2 separate regions of the Homo sapiens genome follow, and region 2 is linked to region 1. Evidence: promoter capture Hi-C in human tissues and cell types (Jung and others, 2019). All regions are on one chromosome and are shown on one strand. The core of a region is centred on a gene start or on the middle of the fragment in contact, and the rest is flanking DNA. Distances in the headings are between cores, read along the strand shown.

Region 1 (4,947 bases), core at 27-2,526:
TGGGAATTTGGAAAGTTCCCCAACTAGGGACACACGTGACCTCCTTCGGAAAGTAGTTCCGACTGTGGCCCGTGTATCCTTCCACCTCCTTTTGAACCCTCCTAGGTCTCCTCGCCCCGCCCACTCGCTGGGCTGCAGCTTCCTACCGTTCCGTACTTTCCACTCAACCCGGTAACCCCAAACGTGCACGGTCCGGCCGGGGCGCGCGGAGCCTGGCCCCGGGCGATCCATCCTGCCGGGTTTTCACGGCGGCCAAGGGGGGGCGGGGCTAGGTGGTCTCTGAGAACCGAGCTTGACTCCGACGCCGCGAACCGACCTGGAGCCCGAGGGGAAAGATGCTCGACTCTCTTGGGGGCACCGGAGCGGGCGCAGGAGAGGCCTGCGGGGTGCGTCCCACTCACAGGGATCCTCTTTCAGTTCATTTAGATAGGTGCCCTTTGGGCCCTTGAAATTCAACGGCTATGTGTTCACGTTCAGCACGCTCGGCTGAGAGCTTTCATTTTTAGGGCAAACGAGCCGAGTTACCGGGGAAGCGAGAGGTGGGGCGCTGCAAGGGAGCCGGATGAGGTGATACACGCTGGCGACACAATAGCAGGTTGCTCTTTGTGCTAAGACTGACACCATGAGGACACAGATTTGGGGGAAGGGGGAATCTCTAGGCAAAGGCTGTTACAGTCAAATCTCTGCGAACGATTGTGATCCGACAGCGGTGCAAAAGGAAAGAGCGAATGCAGTCCACGCCGCGGAAATCTAGGGGTAGAGGCAAGGGGGGAGGGTATTCCCCTTGCAGGGACCGTCCCTGCATTTCCCTCTACACTGAGCAGCGTGGTCACCTGGTCCTTTTCACCTGTGCACAGGTAACCTCAGACTCGAGTCAGTGACACTGCTCAACGCACCCATCTCAGCTTTCATCATCAGTCCTCCACCCCCGCCCCACAACAGCCTACCCTGCCTCCGGCTGGGTTTCTGGGCAGAGGCCGAGGCTTAGCTCGTTATCCTCGCCTCGCGTTGCTGCAAAAGCCGCAGCAAGTGCAGCTGCAGGCTGGCGGCTGGGAACCGGCCCGAGCAAGCCCCAGGCAGCTACACTGGGCATGCTCAGTAGAGCCTGCGGCTTGGGGACTCTGCGCTCGCACCCAGAGCTACCGCTCTGCCCCCTCCTACCGCCCCCTGCCCTGCCCTGCCCTCCCCTCGCCCGGCGCGGTCCCGTCCGCCTCTCGCTCGCCTCCCGCCTCCCCTCGGTCTTCCGAGGCGCCCGGGCTCCCGGCGCGGCGGCGGAGGGGGCGGGCAGGCCGGCGGGCGGTGATGTGGCGGGACTCTTTATGCGCTGCGGCAGGATACGCGCTCGGCGCTGGGACGCGACTGCGCTCAGTTCTCTCCTCTCGGAAGCTGCAGCCATGATGGAAGTTTGAGAGTTGAGCCGCTGTGAGGCGAGGCCGGGCTCAGGCGAGGGAGATGAGAGACGGCGGCGGCCGCGGCCCGGAGCCCCTCTCAGCGCCTGTGAGCAGCCGCGGGGGCAGCGCCCTCGGGGAGCCGGCCGGCCTGCGGCGGCGGCAGCGGCGGCGTTTCTCGCCTCCTCTTCGTCTTTTCTAACCGTGCAGCCTCTTCCTCGGCTTCTCCTGAAAGGGAAGGTGGAAGCCGTGGGCTCGGGCGGGAGCCGGCTGAGGCGCGGCGGCGGCGGCGGCACCTCCCGCTCCTGGAGCGGGGGGGAGAAGCGGCGGCGGCGGCGGCCGCGGCGGCTGCAGCTCCAGGGAGGGGGTCTGAGTCGCCTGTCACCATTTCCAGGGCTGGGAACGCCGGAGAGTTGGTCTCTCCCCTTCTACTGCCTCCAACACGGCGGCGGCGGCGGCTGGCACATCCAGGGACCCGGGCCGGTTTTAAACCTCCCGTGCGCCGCCGCCGCACCCCCCGTGGCCCGGGCTCCGGAGGCCGCCGGCGGAGGCAGCCGTTCGGAGGATTATTCGTCTTCTCCCCATTCCGCTGCCGCCGCTGCCAGGCCTCTGGCTGCTGAGGAGAAGCAGGCCCAGTCGCTGCAACCATCCAGCAGCCGCCGCAGCAGCCATTACCCGGCTGCGGTCCAGAGCCAAGCGGCGGCAGAGCGAGGGGCATCAGCTACCGCCAAGTCCAGAGCCATTTCCATCCTGCAGAAGAAGCCCCGCCACCAGCAGCTTCTGCCATCTCTCTCCTCCTTTTTCTTCAGCCACAGGCTCCCAGACATGACAGCCATCATCAAAGAGATCGTTAGCAGAAACAAAAGGAGATATCAAGAGGATGGATTCGACTTAGACTTGACCTGTATCCATTTCTGCGGCTGCTCCTCTTTACCTTTCTGTCACTCTCTTAGAACGTGGGAGTAGACGGATGCGAAAATGTCCGTAGTTTGGGTGACTATAACATTTAACCCTGGTCAGGTTGCTAGGTCATATATTTTGTGTTTCCTTTCTGTGTATTCAACCTAGGGTGTGTTTGGCTAGACGGAACTCTTGCCTGGTTGCAAGTGTCAAGCCACCGATTGCTTTCTTAGGCTATCTATATGGTCTCTTCCTGAGGGCTATTGTCCGTTAATACAGAATACAGTACACTGTTAGTGGATTAGCGAGCTCGGTAATCCGGTCTCCTAAATGAACAAAAAAGTAGACGCTTTTTGAGGTTGAGCATATTTCGATTAAATCTTGGCTTAGGCCCTAGATCAAGGGTTTAGATCAGAATAAAATGAAAATTAGTGTTGCACGTACGCATATTGCATCAGAATCTTGCAGTGATTGTTTTAGTTTCCTGAGTTGCATTGATAGATTCTTTTAAAATATGACTGATTTGCATAACTTTAGAAGCAGAATCATTTTCAGTATATATGGTGCACATTGAGGGCAAAAAGTAGTTTTGTTAATGTTTAAACTTAAGTTACCTACAACTTTGAACTGTATGTAGAAGTTTTGTAGTTTGAAGTCAATAGTGCCATAATATACCTTATAAGGCGTTCTTACTAGATCTTTGTTATATTTACCTTTTTCTCTCCCTATGGGGTGATGTAGGATAGTGCTTGAAATTTGCACTTCAGTAGCATTTAATGTTCAGTGCTCTTGTCATAAACATAGAATGGATATTGAGTAGTTTCTGATCCCAGATGGTAATGTGTAGGTTCAAGGGTATTGTGTGTAGCAAGTGAAGATTGCAGAAATAAAACTTCAGTTCATGCTTGAAATTTAAGTATTGTTGTGATGCCAGAATTGCTGCTCACCGTTTTTAGGTTTCAGGTCCTCTGACACCTTTTGGTATCGTTAATTTTACTGATTTGTGTAGAATGTCAGTTGTATTTTACCAGCTAATATCTAGAAATGCTGGCAAGAGGGGTTTACTCCAGCTTTAGATTGTAGGTATGTTAGCTTTTTTCATACAGTGTATTAAATTTACTGAGTCAGCTTGCTGAATAAGACAGAAGCCCAAGAATTTTAACAGTGTGTAGCTTTAGTTGTCTAAAAGTTAGGCCTTCGGGCTTCAAAAGTTAGTGGTCATCGAAAAGCATTAATCTTTGCAGTTTCAGGTACAACACATTGGTTTTGATTAGGGATGGGGATGGGGCCCTCTTTTTGCAGAATGGGGAAAGTATTGACAGGAATTGAGAGCTATTGGTAGGCCAGTGTATAAGGTATGTGAAAACAGAATTAAGTTATTGGTCTGAAGTGACTGAAGCATTTAGGCTCTATCAAGGCCTAAAATTTGGTAATATGAGTTTGGTAATGCGAATTGTGGCAGTGGACAATATTTAGTTAAAATTATGTAATTGCATAAGTACTAGCACAGTATTTTTAATAAAAGTTATTTCTTAGCAAATGTCAGTTGCATTTTGTCTAAAGGTAGAGTGACACTACAGTGTCTATATGTCCTGCTAAAAATTGTGGGGAATATTTTTTTTTAAGACAGCGTTTATATCGGGAGAGGTTTTATTCCGTTGGATTATGTTAGCTGCATATAAATGTGCACAGTTAATTTTGCCCAAGTTTTTGTTTTGAAATGAATGTAAAACTTACTGAAGAAGTAGCTTCCCAAAATTTAGTTTTCTGTTAAGCCAAAAATATTATTTTAAAAGAGTATTTGCAAATTTTGAAGTTGACATTAATTGAGAATGTTACTAAGGCTAAACTGGACCCGCTTGCCCAGAAGATAATTATGGAAAAATTCTTTTGTGACTTCCAAAGCAGTCTACTATTAGCATGAATTACTGACAGTCATCCAAATATATAGGAACAAAAAATTAAATGTTTATGTAACTTTGAAAAAAAAGCCTTTGAAGAAAATAATTGAATGCTGTCTGGGAGACAGATTTCTTTCAGCACTTAAAGTACATAACACACTACTTTTACTTTTCCCACTTGATTTTAAATTATCAGGGTTATTAAGACCTTAAAATTATTTTACCAGGTTTTTACATGTGAGCTGTGACATGACTGGCATTTTCTTTGATTTCAGCGTATGTTGGTCTCTACACATGAAATTTGTGTGACTTAAAACTTTCTCTAAAACTGTACTTTTAGTTATGATATGCATAGAAAGCAGTATCAAATATTGCGTCAAATGACTAATAACACTTAATTTCTAGAGTTGTGGTTTTATTGAGCCAAAAGTTGATATGAAAAAAAGTCAGTAAGGAAAGTCAGTGAAGTGCTTGCTTTTTTGATAATTGCACTCCCAATAATTTTGATATTCCAACGTACTTGGTTTGCTTGTTTTCACGTTAATGTTTTCTGTTTATTGGAGTGGGAAGGCATTAAAATTGTCATTGAAGACTTTGTCTTTGACATGTTGTAGTATTTATTTCAGTAACTAACCTGTGAAAAGTTAAATTCCTTTATGAAAGTAGTGATTGGAGTATTTTTATCTGATAAAGAAAGATTAATAATGAAGCCATTTCTCCGAGGAAAATTGAGGACAATAATTCAGTTTTAAAATATT
Region 2 (4,947 bases), core at 1,044-3,543, 1.0 Mb after region 1:
TTTAGTAGAGACAGGTTTCACCGTGTTAGCCAAGATGGTCTCCATCTCCTGACCTCGTGATCAGCCCACCTCGGCCTCCCAGATTGCTGGGATTACAGGTGTGAGCCACCGCACCCGGCCCCTAATGTTTTTTCTTGACCAAGAAAGTCATTCACAAAAATTAGTTGTCTTCAGAGTATATTTGGAAAGGTAGACAATTGCAGAAACATTTTCACTTTCTGTCCCCATGTTGTTGTTCCACTATGGTTAATAAAGACTGACCCATTTCCACCTCTCCAGAGGAAGGAGTCATACTTATGAGATGTCTTCTGTGTTTTTCTAGAACATTATATAACAATAATTAAAATTTTATTGTATATGTCACTGTAAAAATGAACACAAAGGCTTTTTATCTGGAAAATTTGTGTTTTCATCCAAGAAGTCTGCATGCAAATGAAATATTATAGATTGATGAAGACTTTAGGTTATTTTCCAGCTTATCTTTGAAATCAGTTTTAAATTTGGGAAGGTCCATTCAGAAGAGGAAAAATCAATCTAATTTTCATTTTCAGGGAAAAAAAACTAATTATAATCTCTTGTTGCTTCCTTCTCTCACTTCCGTCTGTCTTTTATTTGATATACCTATTAATCATCACTTATGTGGCAGGGAATATGCTACATTCTAGGGAACAGAGATAAATGGAAAATGATCCCTTTTAAAACCCCAAGGAGTTCATAAGGGATCAGATACACTTGTACAGAAATAATTATAACTCAGTGTGGACTAAGTAGTAGTAAAATATGAATACATTACTTTTATACATATGAGAGGCTGGAACCCCCTTTAGAGAACATTCTGATTTTCATAGATTTTTTTTCTAGTCATTTTTCTGATGTCATTGAAGCAATTATCTGTGTCAAATGACAATATTTTCTTTTGGTGCTGTTGAGTTCTATAGCCGAGTGTGGTTAGGGAAAAGTGGATGGATTGCTGTAGCTTTTGAGACATCTCAATTGAAAAGACTATATACTGAAGCCCGAGGCTCAAAGTTCAGAAACTCCAATTTCTGTCTCTGATGTGGGGAAGCCACGTAATAAAATGTACAAGGGACATGGTATGGTTCTTACTTAATGAAGCCTTGAGAAACAAGTTTATGGGTCTCTGGTTACATATTAAACCTTTAGGACCAAGAATCATTTCAGATCTCTGAGGTTCTATTGGCTATAAAATTACCACCAAAGTAGACCAGATGGCATTGGAAGAACTCCAGATATCTAATTCACTATACCCTGTCCCTGAAGGTTGGCTCGGTAATTCATGGCCAGACTAAAAGTATGCTTACCTTGACTTCTTTTATAGCTTTCTACAGACTTGAATGAAGTGCTCCACCCACACAGTAGTCAGACTTGCAACCTACCCTTAACTGACCAAGGCGGCCTTGAGAAGCTAAATTTGCTCTAGACTAACTCTGTTCTGGGAGCATCCAGCAATGGTAGAAGGGGTTGGTCTAAAGCCTTGCTTCTCAAACTGTACAGGCATAAGTACCTCTGGAAAGATGGATTAAAACATTGATTCTCCTGCCTAACTCCAGAGATCCTGACTATAGGTCTGAGGTGAGACCTGTTAGGAATTTGCATTTGTAAGAAACTCCCAGTTGATGCTGATGCTGCCAGTACATGGACCATGCTTTGAAACATGCTGGTCTAAAGCAGGGGTCAGCAAACTATGGTGTAAGGGCCAAACCACCCACTTGCTTTTATAAATAAACATTTAGGGGACACAGCCAGGGTCATTTTTATCCATATTGTTTATGGTGACTTTCATGCTGAGAGCTGAATTCAAGTTGCAATGGAAACCATATGGCTAGCAGAGCCTAAGATACTTGCTATGTGGCACTTAACAGAGAAAATTTCCTTTCTGAAGCACCGACTTTTTATTGAATAATTATTCTGAATTGCATATGTTCTATGCTTTACCAAAAGTGTATAGATGCTGTTTTTATTAATAAAATTCAAATTGCTATCACTGACATTTCTTAGTAACATATCATTATTTTCTTAGTCAAGGACTAATTTAACAGTGTACTTACTATTATATGGAGGTCTGAGATTCTTTTTATGTTAAAAAAAATGGGAGGGGCATTCTTATGCTTGAAAAGGCTTCTCCAGGACTTACTTGTGGGTTGTTTTTTTTTTAACTCAATGAAGATGCAGAGAAGCCCTGAAAATTTCTTACTAAACAACACTTATTCTGGAATAGAATTGAATCTTTATAGTAACTTGAATCCAAGTTACCTCCTTGGAGACCCTTCAGAGTAGACTGACATGAACCCTACAATGGCAGGAATTCATCTTATGACCTGCTTCAGATGATCCCAGATAGAAGCATGCACAGGGATATGAGGAGCAATGATATTTTACCTAAAATGACCTGAAACATTTGCATACCCTGAAACCTAAAGTGAGATCCCACTCCAATAAAACTGTATGTTTACCTTGGAGGTTTGTCTTTTTGTTGTATAAACCATGTATTTTTGTTGTATAAAGCATGTTTAAGCAAAAATGCTTTACTTTGATTATATCATTAACTTATGAAAAGATTTCCTTAGGTAATGGTGTTAGGTTCCTCATAAAGAACATATGTCCATAATATTAGTCATATCCTTTTCTTACTATAATCAACAGTTAATCAGAGATTTAAATTTTGCTTTGCAGAAAAAGTTAGCTGCTATGCCTGACCATACAGATGTTTCCCTAAGCCCAGAAGAGCGAGTCCGTGCCCTAAGCAAGCTTGGTTGTAATATCACCATCAGTGAAGACATCACTCCACGACGTTACTTTAGGTCTGGAGTAGAGATGGAGAGGATGGCGTCTGTGTATTTGGAAGAAGGAAATTTGGAAAATGCCTTTGTTCTTTATAATAAATTTATAACGTAAGTGTTTTAAAGGCCTCTGAAGTGAGAAAATTGGAAAAATATTTACATAGTTATTTTGATGTGGCAGTTTGGGTATCAGTAATGTTTTCATATTCAGACCAATTGCACAGTCTCTAGGAGCATTAAATGTTCAAGTTTTTAAATTACCAACTAATGTACTCACAGGCATCCCAACACCATCTCTGAGGCTTAGGGTCAGGGAGGGCAGGAGGCTCAGGGTTATCAGATTTCCTTTCCAAGGCCAGCATAGTAATCTATTTAATACATGTTTCACTCTTCTTAAATATAATTTATTTTTTCATGCGATTTTCCCCGACAGAAATGGAAGCTTTATGAGAGCAGGAACTACAGTGCAGCTCCATTTATAGCACCTAGAACATGCCATCAACATTTAAAAAATTTGATTTGGTGGGTTGAGTCTAGGGGACAAGTTGGGAGACACAGGAAAGATCTGATTCAGGTTCAGGGATAGGTTCAGGAAACTCATTCAAGTTTCATATAGCACTTATTATTTCTTTTTAAAAAACATTTTATTTGGCTATTAAGAACACTATGTACAAAAGAGCTGTCAAAATGTTGAGTAAAAGTGGCTACATCAAAACAGCCATGTCAGAGTATCATGTTTCCTATTAGACAGATATTTGTTAGTGACATATCCTAGTTTAAGAGTTAACAGAAATGGGACTTCGTCTTTCCTTACTATAAATCTGGTAACTTACTAGTTGAAAGGATGTCCTGTCATCAATAATTATATCTTCTAAGATGAACCTTCTTTTTTTTAATTGAAAGTCACATGCCGATTACTTTTGCTAGCTTATTATTTATTAATTTTATTTAAGTTGACAAATAAAAATTATATGTATTTGTGGTATGCAACATGTTTTGATACATATATGCTTATATTGTGGAATGACCAAGTCAAGACAATTAACATATTTATTACCTCACAGACCTTTTATTGAGACAGGGTCTCCCTGTTGCACAGGCTGAGTGCAGTGGCACAATCATAGCTCACTGCAGCCTCGACCTCCCTGGCTCAAGTGATCCTCCCACCTCAGCCTCCCGAGTAGCTGGGACTACAGGCATGTGTCACCATGCTCAGCTAATTTTTTATTTTTGTAGAGATGGGATCTTACTATGTTGCCCAGGCTGATCTCCAACTCCTGGATGCAAGTGATCCTCCTGCTTTGACCTCCCAAAGTCCTGGGATTATAGGCATGAGCTACTGTGCCAGACCCAAGCTGCATAATTATGCAATACATTGTTATTAAGTATAATCATCATATACACTGGACCTCCTGAACTTATTCCTCCTGTCTAACTGAAATTTTGTATCCTTTGACCAACATCTCACCCCCATCCTCAACTGCTGGAACTCTGATAGCTACCAGACTACTCTCTGCCCCCCTGTGAATTCAACTATTTTAGATTCCTTCTACATTGTAAGTGAGATCATGCAGTATTTGTGTTTCTGTGCCTGGCTTATTTCACATATAATATCACTAGCTTAGTCAGGGGCTTAGCCTGAGAACATTTAAGAAGTTGAAAGATACAATATTTTAAAAATTGCCTTCCATGATTCTACCGAGGGCAAAATTAAAGGCAGTTTACATGGTATGCAAAAATTGAGATCTGCATTTTATTCAAGTTACTGAACTTGAAAATTTAGAGAATGGTTGGCAACCTTCACCCTACCTGGGAAAATCACTTGTTTTTAGAAAGTTAAGTAATAAATATGAAATTAGAAGTTATTCTCCACCATTGATAGCCAAACTTTTCCAATAATTTTTGTTTCTGAATAAGTTACCAATTAATAATATTTCTTTTTCACCTTCTGCTCTGATCTTGCATATGTTCCTATGGAATTGTGAGCCTGGTGAAAAGGAAAAGGCCCCTATATCTCAGAATTACTGTGTAATCAAAATATTTGAATTCTCTTGTATTATTAGTTGTATGATAATTTGTAATTCACTTATTCTTCCTGGGCCTTAGTTCCTCATCTACAAATGAAAGATTTATGGGAGAAAATCTC

What was found. The method cuts DNA at HindIII sites, captures the fragments that hold promoters and counts their contacts. A contact is called where the count stands out against the background at its distance.
Region 2: a fragment that was not itself captured here is called in contact with the fragment with the promoter of KLLN in region 1 in 1 of the 25 tissues and cell types used here (aorta).

What each region holds. Positions count from the first base shown.
Region 1 is chr10:87,862,257-87,867,203 of GRCh38, forward strand. KLLN (killin, p53 regulated DNA replication inhibitor) reads right to left here and starts at 1,277. Exons shown (of 1, transcript NM_001126049.2): 1 at 1-1,277. The coding sequence starts at 231. It overlaps MLDHR (mitochondrial lactate dehydrogenase regulator), which reads left to right and starts at 1,303. Exons shown (of 1, transcript NM_001433720.1): 1 at 1,303-1,398. The coding sequence starts at 1,303. The coding sequence ends at 1,398. It overlaps PTEN (phosphatase and tensin homolog), which reads left to right and starts at 1,369. Exons shown (of 9, transcript NM_000314.8): 1 at 1,369-2,292. The coding sequence starts at 2,214. RefSeq lists enhancers at 4-93, 344-523 and silencers at 1,124-1,433, 1,524-1,663. The HindIII fragment of the contact is 9,209 bases long and covers 1-4,947 here.
Region 2 is chr10:88,902,749-88,907,695 of GRCh38, forward strand. It overlaps STAMBPL1 (STAM binding protein like 1), which reads left to right. Exons shown (of 11, transcript NM_020799.4): 3 at 2,695-2,912. Among named protein-coding and RNA genes, the nearest start is that of STAMBPL1, 25 kb to the left of the region's middle. The HindIII fragment of the contact is 3,678 bases long and covers 455-4,132 here.